Regions from separate parts of the Homo sapiens genome. Here region 1 is linked to region 2. The links are contacts of gene promoters, found by promoter capture Hi-C in blood cells and fetal thymus (Javierre and others, 2016). All regions are on one chromosome and are shown on one strand. The core of a region is centred on a gene start or on the middle of the fragment in contact, and the rest is flanking DNA. Distances in the headings are between cores, read along the strand shown.

Region 1 (2,700 bases), core at 193-2,692, 520 kb after region 2:
CTCTTCGGCCTCCCAAAGTGCTTGGGTTACAGGCATAAGCCACTGCGCCCAGCTGGGAAGCTTGTTAAAAATATAGATTGAAAGCTCTACCCTCTGAGAGTCTACTTTTGTCAGCCTGGGAGAGGACCCAGTGTATTTTGAACAGGTGCTCCAGGAGACAGGATTAGGCAGAATCCAGATTGGGAATCCTACTCTGGACAAGCCTCTCATCCGCAGATGGGAAAACAGGCTAAAGTTGAAGACCCTGGGTCCAAGGTCACCGACTGCCAGGTCAGACTAGACCAGCACTTGGGTCTCCTCATCTCTGGGGTATTGGTCTCTGTCTTCACCGCACTGACAAGTCCTCTGTATGGGAAAGAGTCTTTATTGGAGACTCCAGACGGTGCCTGGAGAGGGACACAGAACTCTGCCATGAGAGAGGTGGTGGGGGCAGTGGAGTTCTGACTGGGAGAAACTGTACAGTCTCCCAGTAACAGTTAACTTAGAGCTGGGCCTTACAAGAGGGTGGGCAGGATTCCTTAGAATAAGTAGGTTATTGGGAATTTAATAAGCAGATGGGGGTGGAAGAGGATTCCAGGTGGAGACAACAGCTTGAGCAGAATCCTGGCTGGTGGTGGGACTTTGTAGGCAGAGTGAGAAAAGATGGCAGCCCCATGTGGCTGCCGCAGGCCTCGTCCGGGACACTGAAGCACGGCAGGTGCACTTGGAGTTGAGGCTTGAATGGCAGGTTGGGGCTGAAATTCTGTTGTAAACCCTAAAGCCTCAACAACACCCCTGGGCACATAGAGATGCTCGATGAATACCTCATAAAGCCATTTGATAGCTCGCTCCAATTTTAAGAAGCAAAGAATGAGTTGAGATGTTTGTAAATCATCAGAGAGAGATGGCTCCTTATGACTCATGGCACCCAATTTGGAGTAAGGAGAATCTGCCTCAGAGGAAAAAAACTGTGTACCCCAAAATCCTACCAAGAAAGAGGTTCCCTCTGCTCACATTTCCACTGAGCTCTTCCAGCACCCTGGCATCTATATTTTTTGGCTCCTGGTGCCTTTTTTTTTCTTTTTTTTGAGACGGAGTCTTGCTCTGTCACCCAGGCTGGAGTGCAGTGGCATGATCTTAGCTCACTGCAACCTCCATCTCCTGGGTCCAAAAGTGATTCCCCTGCCTCAGCCTCCCGAGCTGTTGGACCACAGGCATGCACCACCATGCCTGGCTAATTTTTTTGTATTTTAGTAGAGATGGGGTTTCACCATGTTGGCCAGGCTGGTCTCGAACTCCTGACCTCGTGATCCGGCTGCCTTAGCCTCCCAAAGTGCTGGGATTATAGGTGTGAGACACCTCACCGGCCTTGCTCCTGGTGCTTTTAATGCACGCGAAGGAGAGGTCAAAAAAACACAAGGTGGAAGTGGGACTTTCCTGGGTGATTCAGAGCAGTGGTTGCAGGTTTGACTGTGCTGGGAGTCAGGTGAATAGAGCATGCTCTACCCCCTCTTATCAGCAATCAGCCATCATGATACAGGCTTTTCCTGAGGGCACAGGCAGATGCCAAGTAGGCACAGAGTCAGATAAGTGCAGTCCCAGTTCATGCCAGAGGCTGTCCCAGGCCCCACCCGCGACCTCACACCACCTCTTGCACACTGCTCTTGGGTCCCAGGAAGGAGTGTGGCCTCTTTTTAAGGTGACCGTCTCAGGCAGCTTGCACTCTTGTGCATGTAATATGAGGTGGTTGCTGTGTTAGGGTCCTGGAGGATATCAGGAAGGGAAGAGGTGCTGAGAGATGCTTAAAAACCTTTCACTCTGAAAGGTGGGATGGGCTGCTGCACAGACACATACTGAGTGGGGTGGGATTGCCTGGGGGTGCAGGAGATGCAAGGGACCGTTCTAAGGAAGCTCCCAGGTTCCAAAGGAGCAGCAGTGCTTTCCTGGCTGGGTTGCTGAGAAGGCATTAGGGCAGGGTAGCTTTTGAGTTGGAACTTGAAGATGGAGATTTGGAAGTGACCGATGGGAAGAAGCAAGGGAATGGCCTGAAGAAAGGGAGAGAGAATGAACATTCCAGGCCTAACCACCAGTCCTCGGCCCCAGTTCTTCTGCCTCCTGCAGGGACATGAGGCAGAGCCTCTCTGAGCATCCGCACTGTTCAGATCACAGTTCTAGGCGCTGACCTGTTTATAAACTGAGTAGTGGCTAGACCCTGCCTTGTAGGAGCTCAAACACTTAGGTACACCAGGATAGCTCTGATTGAAACCAGACTGGTATTTTTCTCTGAAGGGCCCTGTTCCTCACCTGGTCAGTCTTGCCTCTCATGATCCCACACCCATGAGTCCTCCCCTCATGCAATCGACTCCCCTAGCCCTGTAGAAAGCTGTGCTTTCCTTGCCTCATGGCGCTAGCTTCTGCTGTTGCCTGCATCTAGAGTGCCCTTCCTGCCATGTGTGACGGTCCACATCTGCCCATGAGGCCTGAGTCCAGTCCCGCCTTCACTATGACATGACCATGCCGATCTTCATCCCTCCCCAGCCCACCAGGCAGAAACATCTCTCCCGTCTTTGAACTTCACCACGCCGTGCATCTTCCTCTGGGTGTGCAATCGTCACCTGCGTACATGATTGATTCTGCCCCCAACACTAGACTGTGAGTACCCTTTGCGGGCAGAGCTATGTGTCCTTATCACCAGAGTCTTGCACAGCACTTAATAGATGC
Region 2 (2,700 bases), core at 146-2,645:
CTTACCACACATTTTCTCACACACTCTCATTCTACACACACGAGACATACTCATGCATATACACACCCACTTATACCACACACACCCCTACACCCACTTACACACACCCACTCACACATACACCCACTTACACACACTGCACACCTACACACACGCACTCACCACACACACCCCTACACCCATTCACACATATACCCACTCACACCCCCCACACCCACACGCACGCACTCACCAAACACTCCCCTACACCCACTTACATACCCATTCACACATACACCCACTTACACACGCACTCACCACACACACCGCTACACCCATTCACACATATACCCATTTACACACACACACCCCACACCCACACGCATGCACTCACCAAACACTCCCCTACACCCACTTACACACGCACTCACCACACACACCTTTACACCCACTCACACATACACCCACTTACACACACATCACACATGTGCTCTCACCACACACACTCCTACACTCACATACACACGCCCACTCACATATACACCCTCTTTACATACCACACCCCCACACACGCACTCACCACACACACCCCTACACCCACTCACACATACACCCACACACGCACCCACACACGCACTCACCACACACACACCCTACCCACGCGCGCACACACCCACTCACACATACACCCACTTACACACACAACACACCCCCACACATGCACTCACCACACACCCCCTACAGCCACTCACATTTACACCCACTTACATGCACACCCCCAGATGCACGCACTCAGCACACACACACTCCGTGTGTCTTGCAGCCCTGGTTCCACACCTCCGGAGATGGGAAAATCCCTCCCTTCCAAAGCAGCATCTTTCGTCCTCGGCCAGCCCTGAGTGTGTGAGCGCTCCTCTCCATATTGGGCCCCAATTCATCTCCCTATAGCTTTTCCCCCTTCTAATTCAGGAAGGGTTTAGAAAGTTCATTCATTAAACAAGCAAACAAACACAACAAGACAAAACAACAAATCCACAGCCCTCTTGAAATGCCTCCGGGCGCTGAGAGCCCAGCAGGGGCCTGAGGCTGAAGGCAGGCTCCCAGTCCCTCTGCCTCTGCTCACAGGTATGGGTGTGAGCGTGGACCCCATCCCAGGCCTCACCAACCCAGCCGCCTGCGGGAATCTCTAGAGCTTTCTGAGTGTCCTCGGGGTCCTGAAGGTGCCAACCCTGCAACCTCGGTGGGATTTTGGCCCCGGCAGGGCTCTGTACATGGGAGGAGTTCAGGGTCATTTTGTAATCTTCAGAGGCCTTGCCAAGGCCCTCTCCCGTCCTGTGACCCTGGTGACATTCTGGGACGCTGGGGCCACGTGAGGGGAGGAACCACTGCCTGGAACTTTGATCAGCGCTGGGGCTGGATTGAGCTGACCACAGGCCACACCAGACTCCTCTCTGCTCCTGAGGAAGACAGGGCAGCCCGGCGCCACCCGCTCGGCCCTCACGGTAGGCTCCCGGGGTCGCTGAAGGGCTCCAGGGTCTGCAGGGACGTGGGGGCAGGAACGGGAACTTGCGATCTCCCCCGTTTCAGAGCATTCCGCAGCTCCAGGCAGGCTGCGGTTCTGGGGGGCCCCTGCCCCGGGAGGAGAAGTCCCTGAGGTGCTCAGCTAGGGCGCTGCTGGGAAGAGGCAGGAGGAAGGTGGGGCGGGGGTTTGTGAGATGAAGATCTGCCAGTCCTGGCCTACAAGGCTGGTAGTGAGTAGAGGATAAGCAGGGTGACCAGATGTCCAGGTTGGCCTGGTTCTGCCTAGTTTATACTTGTCATCTTGGCATAATAATAATAAATAGTATTACTAATTACTTATTAATCCTATATTAATACTAAATATTATTAATTATTTATTAATATAATTATTGTTTTTTGAGATGGGGGTCTTGTTATGTTGCTCAGGCTGGTCTTGAACTCCTGGCTTCAAGCGATCCTCCCACTCAGCCTGCTGAGTAGCTGGGATTACAAGCGCATGCCACAGCACCCAGCTCAGGCCCAAGGATGACTAGCTCCTGGTTTCCTTCCCAGAAGCGTGCTGGCTCATATAATAAAGTTTGTGGTGAAATAAACCTGCAGGGGGCCACCTTTTATTGAACATTCAGTATGTGCCAGGCGCTGTGTTAAGGGCTTTCTATTTACTATCTTATTTAGCCTATTTATCATCCAATGGAGTGCTAATTTGAACTCTGAGGGCAGAGGTGATAATTAAGTCTGGAAAACCTGAGGCTTAGAGAGTTGGAGTGATTTGCACAAGCCCACACCGCTAGTAGGTGATGGCGTCAGAATCTGATCCCAGCTGGGGGCACTGGCGGAGCTAAAGTGCTTTCCCCTGCTACTAAGCAGGATGAGAGTAAGGCCTGAGATGCGAAGTCACTGAAAGCCACAAACACATTCCTTCAATTCAGCACACAGGGCCTGACTGCCTTCTCAGTGCCTGGCCCCGAGCCAGGTGCTGGGGTGCAGAGCTGCTTGCAGAGACACCACAGCAAGACTGCAGTACCACGGGCTCAGTCGGGTGGGTGCAACTGACTAGAAAACAGAGCGGAAGAGCCCAAACATTCAACACAGTACAAGAGGGATCCGAGGACCCAAGAAAGGGCCGAGCGCGGTGGCTCACGCCTGTAATCCCAGCACTTTGGGAGGCCGAGGCAGGCGGATCACCTGAGGTCAGGAGTT

The links. Contacts are between HindIII fragments. The CHiCAGO score rates a contact against its expected background, and 5 or more counts as called.
Region 1: a contact is called between a fragment that was not itself captured here and the fragment with the promoter of CPN2 in region 2, in 1 of 17 cell types (M2 macrophages). The highest score is 6.1, in M2 macrophages.

The regions. Positions count from the first base shown.
Region 1 is chr3:193,833,570-193,836,269 of GRCh38, reverse strand. It overlaps LOC105374284 (a long non-coding RNA gene), which reads left to right. Exons shown (of 4, transcript XR_924841.3): 2 at 2,518-2,631. Among named protein-coding and RNA genes, the nearest start is that of LINC02038, 9.1 kb to the left of the region's middle. RefSeq lists an enhancer at 1,281-1,340. The HindIII fragment of the contact is 2,760 bases long and covers 63-2,700 here.
Region 2 is chr3:194,350,023-194,352,722 of GRCh38, reverse strand. It overlaps CPN2 (carboxypeptidase N subunit 2), which reads left to right and starts at 1,395. Exons shown (of 2, transcript NM_001080513.4): 1 at 1,395-1,481. RefSeq lists an enhancer at 1,070-1,919. The HindIII fragment of the contact is 6,903 bases long and covers 1-2,700 here.